3 separate regions of the Homo sapiens genome follow, and regions 1 and 3 are each linked to region 2. Evidence: promoter capture Hi-C in 16 types of primary human blood cells and fetal thymus (Javierre and others, 2016). All regions are on one chromosome and are shown on one strand. Each heading gives the region's core, a stretch centred on a gene start or on the middle of the fragment in contact. The rest is flanking DNA. Distances are from core to core; before and after follow the strand shown.

Region 1 (3,046 bases), core at 389-2,888, 1.2 Mb after region 2:
TGCCCAGGCTGGTCTGGAACTCCTGGAGCAAGGAATCTGCTCACCTCGGCCTCCCAAAGTGCTGGGATTACAGGTGTGAGCCACCATGCCCTGTCTATACTGTTAATTTCTAAAGATGCTAAAGAGATCAAGATATCTCTTGATGGGTTACGAAAAACAGTATGTCATCACGCTATACTTAGCCAGACGGTCAGAAAGTTATATTAAGACTTTAGAAGGCTGGGTGTGTGGCTCACACCTGTAATCTCAGCATTTTGGGAGGCTGAGACAGAAGGATCACTTGAGGCCATGAGTTTGAGACCAGCCTGGGGAACGGAACGAAATTGTTTGATTGTTTTTGAGACAAACAAAAACTTCAGACAGTGAAAGTGAGAGAACTTAGACTTAAGCCCTTTGATTATAGTACTGAAGAGGCAAATGGTACAATTAAAATAGCCAACATTTACTGAATGATCGATATGTGGCACTGTGTTAACCGGACAACTTCATCAGATCTGTGTGTTATGTTCATTTTAAAGTGAGAAAGCTGGGACCTAAATCCAGGAAGTTTGCCTCCAGATTCTCACTCAGAGCCACTATGCTGTTAGAACACCCTGTATATTCATTTTTATAGATACGCCCGTGTTTTTTAGGTTGGCTTAAAAATTACTCATTACATATAAGACATCTTTGTACTTTTTACAATCAATGGCATCTTAAAATGAAGGAGTATGGTAAATACCTGCCGTGAGGATCAGATGATAAGTATCTTAAAGTGCTTCTAGAAAAAGTGTGGATTAGAGGGGCAGGTGTTGCAAGGTGAGTACGATGAGCCTGGTCTTCAGAACCCCACCATGGCAGAACAGTGAAAACCACCAGGAGCAAAGTGTCAGTGAGGGGGAATGCTTTCGGCAGTTTTGAGAGGAGTTCCTCCACACGAAGCACCCTACCTCCCATACCTGCCTAAATCTTTCTATGTCCAACCCAAACGGCAGCTCCTTCAGGAAGTGGTCTCTGGCTATATGAGAAGATGTACATGGGAGCAATTTCCAGATTATGAAGCTATGGAACAAATACATGAAAGATGGATTTTATCACTAAAGTTATCCTCGCTCCTCTTCTGGCCTCAGTTTCTCTAAACTGAAAGGAATAGGTGGCTTAGCCTATCTCTTCCTTTTATAATTTCTGCCTCTAACCTCTTCAGATTTCTGCCAATCTGCTTTGAAAAGCAAATTTCCTTCCTCAGACCTGCAGGAGACTGCTCCTCTGGGCTGGCAGCTCAGCAGGGCGGGGCTCGGGGAGCAGGAGAAGAGGCGGGGGCTCGGAGGGAAGCGCGGCCGCAGCCACGTGACTTCCTTCCCAAGGAACCTCAGCTGCCGGCCTCCCAGCAACCGGTGCGTCCCGCCTAGCGACGCCCGCGCATCCCGGTTGGCCCTCGGGGGCGGTTGTGGCAAGGAGGTGCCCACGGTCGCGCTGCTCATTGGCTCGGGTTGCCGTCGCTCAGACCCGTTGCCCGGGCGCCCGCAGGCGGTGCTGCCGGATGCCCCGCCCCTTGGCCGCCAGGTTCGTGGCTGGCTGGCCGCTGCTGTCACTCCCCGGCCGTTTCCCTGCGGCCAGCGCTCTACTTGGGGCGGGAGGAAGAGGGGCGGGACTGGGGCCTGACTAGTCGTCGCCGTCTTCGCGGCTGCTATGACCAGCGGGCGAGGCGCCCTTCGCAGCTCCGCGCAACGCTAGTCGCGGCCGTGCGCCCGCCGTAGCCGTCTGCGTCCCAGCGCGGCCGCTCCCGCGGCCCCCTCGGCTTTGCCAGCGCCGCCTGCGAGGCGGAGGCAGGATGAAGATGACTGTGGATTTCGAGGAGTGTCTGAAGGACTCGCCCCGCTTCAGGTAACCGGCACGGCCGCCCGGCGTCACCGCGGAGCTGCCTTCCCGGCGCTGGGGGCGTGAAAGCCGGGCCCGCGCACCCGGAGGAGGCCCCGCCGTCCGCTCCTTCCGACGGGGCGAGCGGCTGTTGCCGCCGTTTCCCACCCTGCGAGGGCACTGCAGTCCCCACCGAGCCCTCCCGAGGGGCGACGAAGTGGCGGGGACGGGGACGTCGCCTCTCATTTCTTTCCTTGCCCTCTGCCGGGGCGGAGCGCCCCGAAGGCCGGCGCACCCTCTCCCGCTGGGGGAAATGGGGTGCAGCCGCGCTCCCGAAGTCCCGTCCCCTTCGCGGGCGCTCGCTCTCGCCCCCTTCCTCCTCTGGCTGCTCTTCCTTCCCCCTTCCTTCCGCCCCTTCTTGGTTTCCACCCCCTCCCCACCCCCTCTTTGAGGGAGCTTTCAGGGCATCCTCTTGCAGTTCATTTAGTTCCTCTTTGCGCTTTTCTGCCCCCCTTCCCCGGGGAGGAGAGAGTAGGGGGCGAACTGGGACGCCGACTTCTGCTTCGCGGTGCCCCCGGCCAGAGCGACTCTCCGGAGGGCGCCCGCGGTGGATGCGTGCGGGAATCGCGGGGGGAAGCGCTGTGATCAACCGCATTCCGTGGACCCTAGTTGGTGACTACCTGCTTTTCTTTCCACTTAAGCTCGTTGAAGGGGGCACAGCTGTCGAGAGGTACCGGGCTGAGGGCGGAGGACTAGCAGAAAAGTGCATTTCTGTTTTGAGAACGGAAGTAGGAGGGCCGTGAAGATTGCCTGTGTGTTCCTCTTCCAGCAGCCTCTGCCCAGGAGGGCCCGGATCACAGTCGGATGCTCCCAGTGGATCTGTCACAGAGTTGACATGGGGGCACTCCGATTCACATGGGTTGCCCTTCTTTCTATGTGAGAGGCGGTCGTCCTGAGGCCGTCCAGGACACAGGTTCTTTCTGTTTTGAGGATAGTAGGAAAGTCTTGAGTTGTTTTGGACAATGGAGTTTTTCTAGGTTGCGTTTTACAGTGTATTTATTTACAGGGCTGGTCATAGTCCTTACAAATATAAGGCCTTAACACTTCCGTTAGATAGTGACATTTCTTGAAGCTTCCTCTGAGCACTGGCGTGTGTGTGCCCGCTAATGTCTGGGCCAAGCCTGGATTGTAAATTGCATCCTCTGCCTGG
Region 2 (2,969 bases), core at 220-2,719:
TTGTTTTGTTTTGTTTTGTTTTTTTAACCTAAAGGCAGGAGTTAAGGTTTTTTCCTGGGCCCATGATTCTATAATCTCCTTTAGGGACTCTCGGGCACACACACACAAACCTAAGAGGTGTGTGAGGAGAATAAATACGTATTGTAAATGTAAAGCCCAGCAAACCCTCAGCATCCACAGAACAGTCTGTGTGTCACAGCCGGCAGGTGAGGAGCACACAGGAAAGCATGGAGGGCCACAGACGCTGAATGTTTCTAGCACCCAGACTCCTAACGGGCTGTGCCCATCATGAAGAAGCCTCCGGTGGGGTCCCCTCAGCCCCTAGGGAAGCACAGCAGCCCCGACCAGCCCTGTCCGGAGAGGCTCCATTCCTAGGACCCCCGATCCGGCCTCCTCCAGTCGCAGCCACCAACTGGCACGTGTCCACCTTCTCTCAGAGGCAGCACAAAGCCACACCAGTGGCTCCTTACTTCTTTCCGTCTAGCTCCTGGGTACGTGGGGAAGTACGCTGACCCCTTCAGAAGCCGGCCCACATGCAGGGGCCACGAGGGCTACGGAAGAGCGTCCGAGTCTTCGTCGCCCTCCTGTTAGTCTCCCTCTGATAAGCCATGGATCTAAGTCTAGGCTAAGATCCAAGTCACAGAGCCCCAGTGAATCTCCCAAGGACAAACGTTCTGTGGGAGAAGGGGCTTTGCACATTTTCACAGCTGTATCCCCAGGGCCTTGGACAGGCCTGGCACGTGGACGGCATCTGTGATAGGTGTTGCTGTTAACCAGTCTTAGTGTCTTCATCTATGAGATAGTGGTTCTCAATCCACGTTGTGGGACAGGAAAGGAGAGCCCAGTGCTCAGCATGCTGAGTGTGCACAGAGCGGTCTCATCATATCCAGTCGCCCAGCCCAGGGAGGGAGCATCTCTGTTCCCATTTTGCAGATGAGAAAACTGAGGCTCAGAAACCTTAACTGTCTGCTCACATGCTCCCTGCAGAGCCAGGACTCAAACCCACGTCTGAATCTGAAGCCCTCGTGGTTTCCACTACGTCGCACCACCTTTCTCAGCTCTAAGTGCTCCTGGAGGGAGGTATTTCCACCTCCACCCAGAGCTGCAGCCCCCACGCCCAGCACAAAAGCGGCGGCGCTTGGACGCAGCAAGCCACAGCTTCCTCGTGAGCCCTGAGCTGCGGGCCGCGGACGCTGACCTCCTACCACCCAACCTCGCTCGAGCTCGCCCACCTGGAGAAGGGCCCCGGCTGTGCCCCGGGGACGCCCCCACGCGGGAAATACTCACGGCTCCCGCAGGCGCAGGCGGCTGCGCGGGGCGCATCGTCTCCGGGGGCTCCGGCCTCCTCGAGAGCAGCCGAACGCGGGGCTGGGCTACCTCCTTGCTGTGGGGCATCAGATTATTTTAGCACCAGCGGAAGGAACGGACGGAAACTGAAGTCACATGGAGAGCGGGCTGCTCGGCGACTCAGCACAGGCTCACTCAGACCCGGCCTCTTAGAGGGAAGCGCGGCGCGGGCGCGGGGGTGGGGCGGGCCGGGGGAGCGGGGCCCGAACACCTGCCGGCCTAGCGGCCGAGCAGCGGGGATGTTTAGACGATCTTCCAGCAATGCGACCGAGGCTCCCCCGGCTTTCTTGCGTTGGTGCCTTGGCAGGGCTGGGGGCGGCCAGCTAGGGGCCCCTTGCCTATGAGGTCTGCTGACCCAGAAACTTTGCTACGAGCTTCCAGCCAAGGACCAAGCTGAGGCCGACTTTGGGAACGGCAGCACCGTGGTAAAGAGGCACAGCCTGTCGTCTGGCAGGGTCAGCCGCTCAGCCAGTCTGTCTTCTTATCCACTCAGCCGGTCCTTGTGGATCATCTCCTTTACGGACCCTGTGTTAGAAAGAAGGGGAATTGCTTTGTCGAGGACTGTCAGAGAGTGCCAAGAGCTTCTTGATCTTAGACTGCGCGGATGGGTTTTTTTGTACCTGATGTGTACAAAGTTCCCTGCCAGCTCTTGCCAAGAATTCAAAGGAGTAAGAATAATTGATCATATAGCCATCATTGAAGCAGCGCCAGACACTGTGCTAAGAGCTTCATATGCATTACCCCAGCGCTCCTGTTCTCGAGGAACTACTGTCGTCTAGAGAAGGTGAAATATTTACAGTGCCTGCTGCGTGTGGAGTGACGTGGACCACCATAGTCGGGGGCTCAGACAAGGGGCCTCCAGTTCTGATCTCTCTCACTCCCCTTCAAATCTGAAACGTTGAACTGTCCTGCAGGATTGGGTCACCTCTCTTATAGCCTGTGATTTGGGATTGTGTGTAGCATTGTCCATCCTAAGAGAACAGGAGCCAAGTCCTTTTCACTCCAAACATCTGGCACATTGTCTCTGCTTTCTACAATATTCACTCATGGCCGGGCACAGAGGCTCAGGCTTGTAATCCTAGCATTTTGGCAGACCAAGGCAGGTGGACCGCCTGAGTGCAAGACCAGCCTGGGCAACATACTGAGACTCCATATGTACAAAAAATTTAAAACTTAGCCAGACCTGGTGGCACGCACCTGTAGTCCCAGCTATTTGGGAGGCTGAGGTGGGAGGATCACCTGAGCACAGGGAGGTTGAGGCTGCAGTGAGCCAAGATCACGCCATTGCACTTCAGCCTGTGTGATAGAGTGTGACTCCGTCTTTAAAAAAATAAAAATAATTTTAAAAATAAAATATTATCTCATAATGGTAATAACAATCACACCAATGAAAAAGCTAAATAAAGATCAAATTGTTGCAAACCCAGGTGCTTGATTCAGGCCTCTTTCTCTCTTGTATGCACATTCTCTACTTCATGTCTTTTGTGTCTACCAATCAGTTGGTAACTCCCCAATTTTAATTTCTAGCTCCAACATTCTCTTCCACGAGAGAAGATCCAGACTTGCATTTTTAACTGTCTACTGGTCAATCAACTGCTACATGTCCCAGAGTCACCATAACA
Region 3 (3,335 bases), core at 650-3,149, 1.1 Mb before region 2:
TATGACGAGGATAAACTGAGTTAACATATAAAATGCTTAGTACAGGACCTGGTAGGTAGTAAGCACTCAATAAATATTCATTATTACATTATTTGTTGGCCTTACCTCAAAAGGTTTCTCTCTCTTTTTTGCGGGGGGGGAGAGCGGGGGGAGACAGGGTCTCGCTCTGCCGCCCAGGCTGGAGTGCAGTGGCGCAATCGGCTCACTGCAACATCCGCCCGCGGGTTCCAGCTATTCTCATGTCTTAGCTGGGATTACAGGCGCGCGGCCACCACGCCCGGCTAATTTTAGTATTTTTAGTAGACATGGGATTTCACCTTGCTGCCCGGGCTGGTCTCGAACTCCTGGGCTCAAGCCATCTGCCTGCCTCCGCCTCCGCCTTCAAAGGGCTGGGATTGCAGGCGTGAGCCACCGCGCCCAGCCCCAGCTTTCTCATTTCTTACAAGCTCACTACTAACCAGCAGCAAGGCAAGACTTGAGGCCAAACCTATTATTTCTGATCATTTGCTTAGTTCACATACTGGATTCTGACTGTGGCAATCGTAGAAATCAATAGTTCCCATCTCACCTGGAACCAAAAACGTTCCAGATAAACCACAACAAAAGACACACAAGACAAATGGGAAGAAATGAAAACCGAAAGAAGGTTTCCAAGACAGTTATCACTCTAAAGACCGTCCTGGGAAAGGGTACGCCTCGGAATCCACTAGTCAGGTACTTTTCAAATATCCGAAAAACTGCCAGCCAAACACCTGGCAGAGCTGACTTACACCCAACGCCATCACTTGAATCCCGACAAAAATATTCGTACTTTTAGCCCACCTAAGCTAACCACAGCGGCTGGTGCCTCGGTAGTGTCAGGGCTGGATTTTAATGGAATCACCAACCTCCCGGTTTTTATATAATCGGCAAGAAACCACGCCACCCTCTCAGATGCGCTCAAGAACCCCACGCTTTACCTGGCTTCTCAGCGAGCCACAGCAATCATCTCTCCTTCAAAGATGTTTGCTTTCTCCCCCATTAGCTAGCTCTGAGGCCTGGAGAGGGAGACTGTGCTTTTCTAGGCAGCGCTCAATACACAACCACATCCCACAGGCGGCCGAGCGCTGCTTCCTTTCTGACAGACGCTCCGGGGCCGCGGCCGGAGGTGGCCCCGAGAGTCGCGCCCGGCAGCCATGGCCGGCGCCGGCCTGGAACGCCCGGCGACCAGGGAAAGCTCCGGAAGCGCTGGTTTAACCGACCGCAGCCCCGGCCGGGCTCTCCAAGACCTTTCTTCAGAGAGAACGGCTCGGTCGGACCATTCCCCTCGCTCCCCGATAACGCCCACCGCGAACGCGCTCCGGGGAAACCGGCAGATCTTTCCTCACAAAGAGCCGGCGAGCGGCGAGCCGTAGCCCCTCCGGGGAGAAGAGACGCCCCCCGCGACCCTGCGAACCTTCGGGCCCGCAGCGCCCCTGCCCCCGCCTCCACAGCCCCTCCTCCGACTGCCGCGGCCGAGGGGACGCCCGGGTCCCTCGCGGTCCAGCCGGGCACCTGGCGTCGAGCCTGCGCTCCCGGCTGTCCTCCGGGCCTCCGCTCGGGTCCGCCCACCAGCGAGAAAACTCCGCCGGCAACTGCTGCCGACCGCCCCTGCCCCCACAAACCGCGCCGCCGGCTTCCACCCGCGCCCTCCCCCGCACTCCAACTCGGTCCAACTCGGCCCCTCACCCAAAGACATATCTATTTTGTCGAGGTTTTCATTGCTGCGGGCCTTCGGCGGCGGCGAAGAAGTCGCCGTGGCTCCCACCAACCGGGTACCAAACCGGTTCATGGCTGGAGACGTCGCGCCGAGAGCGGGCGCGGACAAGGCCGGAGTCGCAGGCCTGCCACCTCCCACTCGCGCACGCAGCCCGCCGCACCGAGGGAGCGCGCACGCGCCGGCGCCGTCCTCGGTCTCCACCCGCGGCTGCGGGCGGGGCGGGGCCACCGACACTCGCGGGCGACCAGAGCGGCCCCGCGCCGTGACTCGCTCCTAGCGGCCCTCGCAGGATCGGACGAGGCATTGCAGCCGCTGTGCTAGGCGCTCGCGAGGACCGCCGTTGTGAGCAGTTCGACTTTCCGCCCAAACTGGGGGATGCTAGACCGCGGGCACCTCTGAATCTTATGCCTTCAGTGATATAATCCTCCGTGTCCTTCGAGTCCCTCCTGCTGCAGACAGGTCCCCTATACTTCGGTACACACGAGCCTTTCGCGCCCACCGCAACGCAGCCTCGGGAGGCAGGACAGACCCCTGCGAGTGTAGATTGCAGCTGCATCCCAGCTCCCCCCTCCCTGGCACGCTCCTCCACCTACAGCTGCGCTGAGCTGCCGCATCTGAACGCAAAGCAAACGCTGCAGTGACGGTTCCTGCGTCACCTTAACTCCAAAGTAAATGCTAACGTTTCCCGTGTCTGTACCTTCTCTCAATCGGCACTCTCAAAACATCTGGCACGGTGTTCACTACCCTAATAAGACCTCAGCTTCCCTCGGGAGGGGTAAGTACCTCTGTTGATGTAGCTGCATTTTCTTCTAATTCATTTGCATTGGGAATGGATAGAAGGGTTCGTTTACTTTTTAATCATCCCTACGGGAAAACAGTTTAATATTTGATGAATTCCTGCATGATAACTTTTTTCCGTTTACAACATACGGTATTTACCTCTCTTCTTACCTCATTCTCCTTCCCTGAAGTAACTGCGTTTATGTGGAAGCGTTTAGGTTATATCACCCTCATACAGCTTAAAACTATCTCGGATATTTACATCTAAGGACAATACCAGATGCATTCTGTCCACCTAGAAATCTCTGTCGCCTTTCTCCTCTCCAATTCATAAAATGCAAAAATTCCTTTAGCATGGAAACCAGCCATCTCAAAACCACAGTAGCCTTTGCTTAATTTAGTCATGTCACAATGTCATGTGGCTTCCAACTTCAACACCAATGACACATTTACTATTTTTTGCTTGGGGATCCCATGTTTTAAAATATTTCTTATGCATGTCACACTTAAAAATTAAAGCCAGCTGTTCCAGCTCCCCTTTCCAGGCCTGAATTTAAAGCAAAGCTTGCAGTGACAATTTTGCGGTCACCTTAACAATAAAAGTAAATGTGAACGTTTCCTGTATATGTAGCATGGATAAAACCAGGAGTCTTCACACAGATTATGTTTCCAGCTGAACTCAAAGAACCATGACTTTTTTGTAAGCCTAGTAGTCTTATCTTGGGGAAATGTATGATTTTTGTTAGGCTTTTGGGAATATTCTAAATAACTTCTTATTCTCAAAGGTTAAGATGTCTCTTTTTTTTTATCATGACAA

What was found. Contacts are between HindIII fragments. The CHiCAGO score rates a contact against its expected background, and 5 or more counts as called.
Region 1: a contact is called between the fragment with the promoter of ACAP2 here and the fragment with the promoter of NRROS in region 2, in 1 of 17 cell types (fetal thymus). The highest score is 5.1, in fetal thymus.
Region 3: a contact is called between the fragment with the promoter of FYTTD1 here and the fragment with the promoter of NRROS in region 2, in 1 of 17 cell types (naive B cells). The highest score is 5.3, in naive B cells.

Annotation. Positions count from the first base shown.
Region 1 is chr3:195,441,612-195,444,657 of GRCh38, reverse strand. It overlaps ACAP2 (ArfGAP with coiled-coil, ankyrin repeat and PH domains 2), which reads left to right and starts at 1,638. Exons shown (of 23, transcript NM_012287.6): 1 at 1,638-1,863. The coding sequence starts at 1,811. RefSeq lists silencers at 1,274-1,773, 1,894-2,113, 2,134-2,183 and enhancers at 1,595-2,094, 2,634-2,723. The HindIII fragment of the contact is 4,201 bases long and covers 1-2,970 here.
Region 2 is chr3:196,638,194-196,641,162 of GRCh38, reverse strand. It overlaps NRROS (negative regulator of reactive oxygen species), which reads right to left and starts at 1,469. Exons shown (of 3, transcript NM_198565.3): 1 at 1,288-1,469. RefSeq lists an enhancer at 713-832 and silencers at 1,283-1,382, 1,403-1,832. The HindIII fragment of the contact is 14,541 bases long and covers 1-2,969 here.
Region 3 is chr3:197,748,447-197,751,781 of GRCh38, reverse strand. FYTTD1 (forty-two-three domain containing 1) reads right to left here and starts at 1,899. Exons shown (of 9, transcript NM_032288.7): 1 at 1,708-1,899. The coding sequence starts at 1,810. It also overlaps a transcript of RUBCN not described here. RefSeq lists silencers at 1,393-1,662, 1,763-2,102. The HindIII fragment of the contact is 7,876 bases long and covers 1-3,084 here.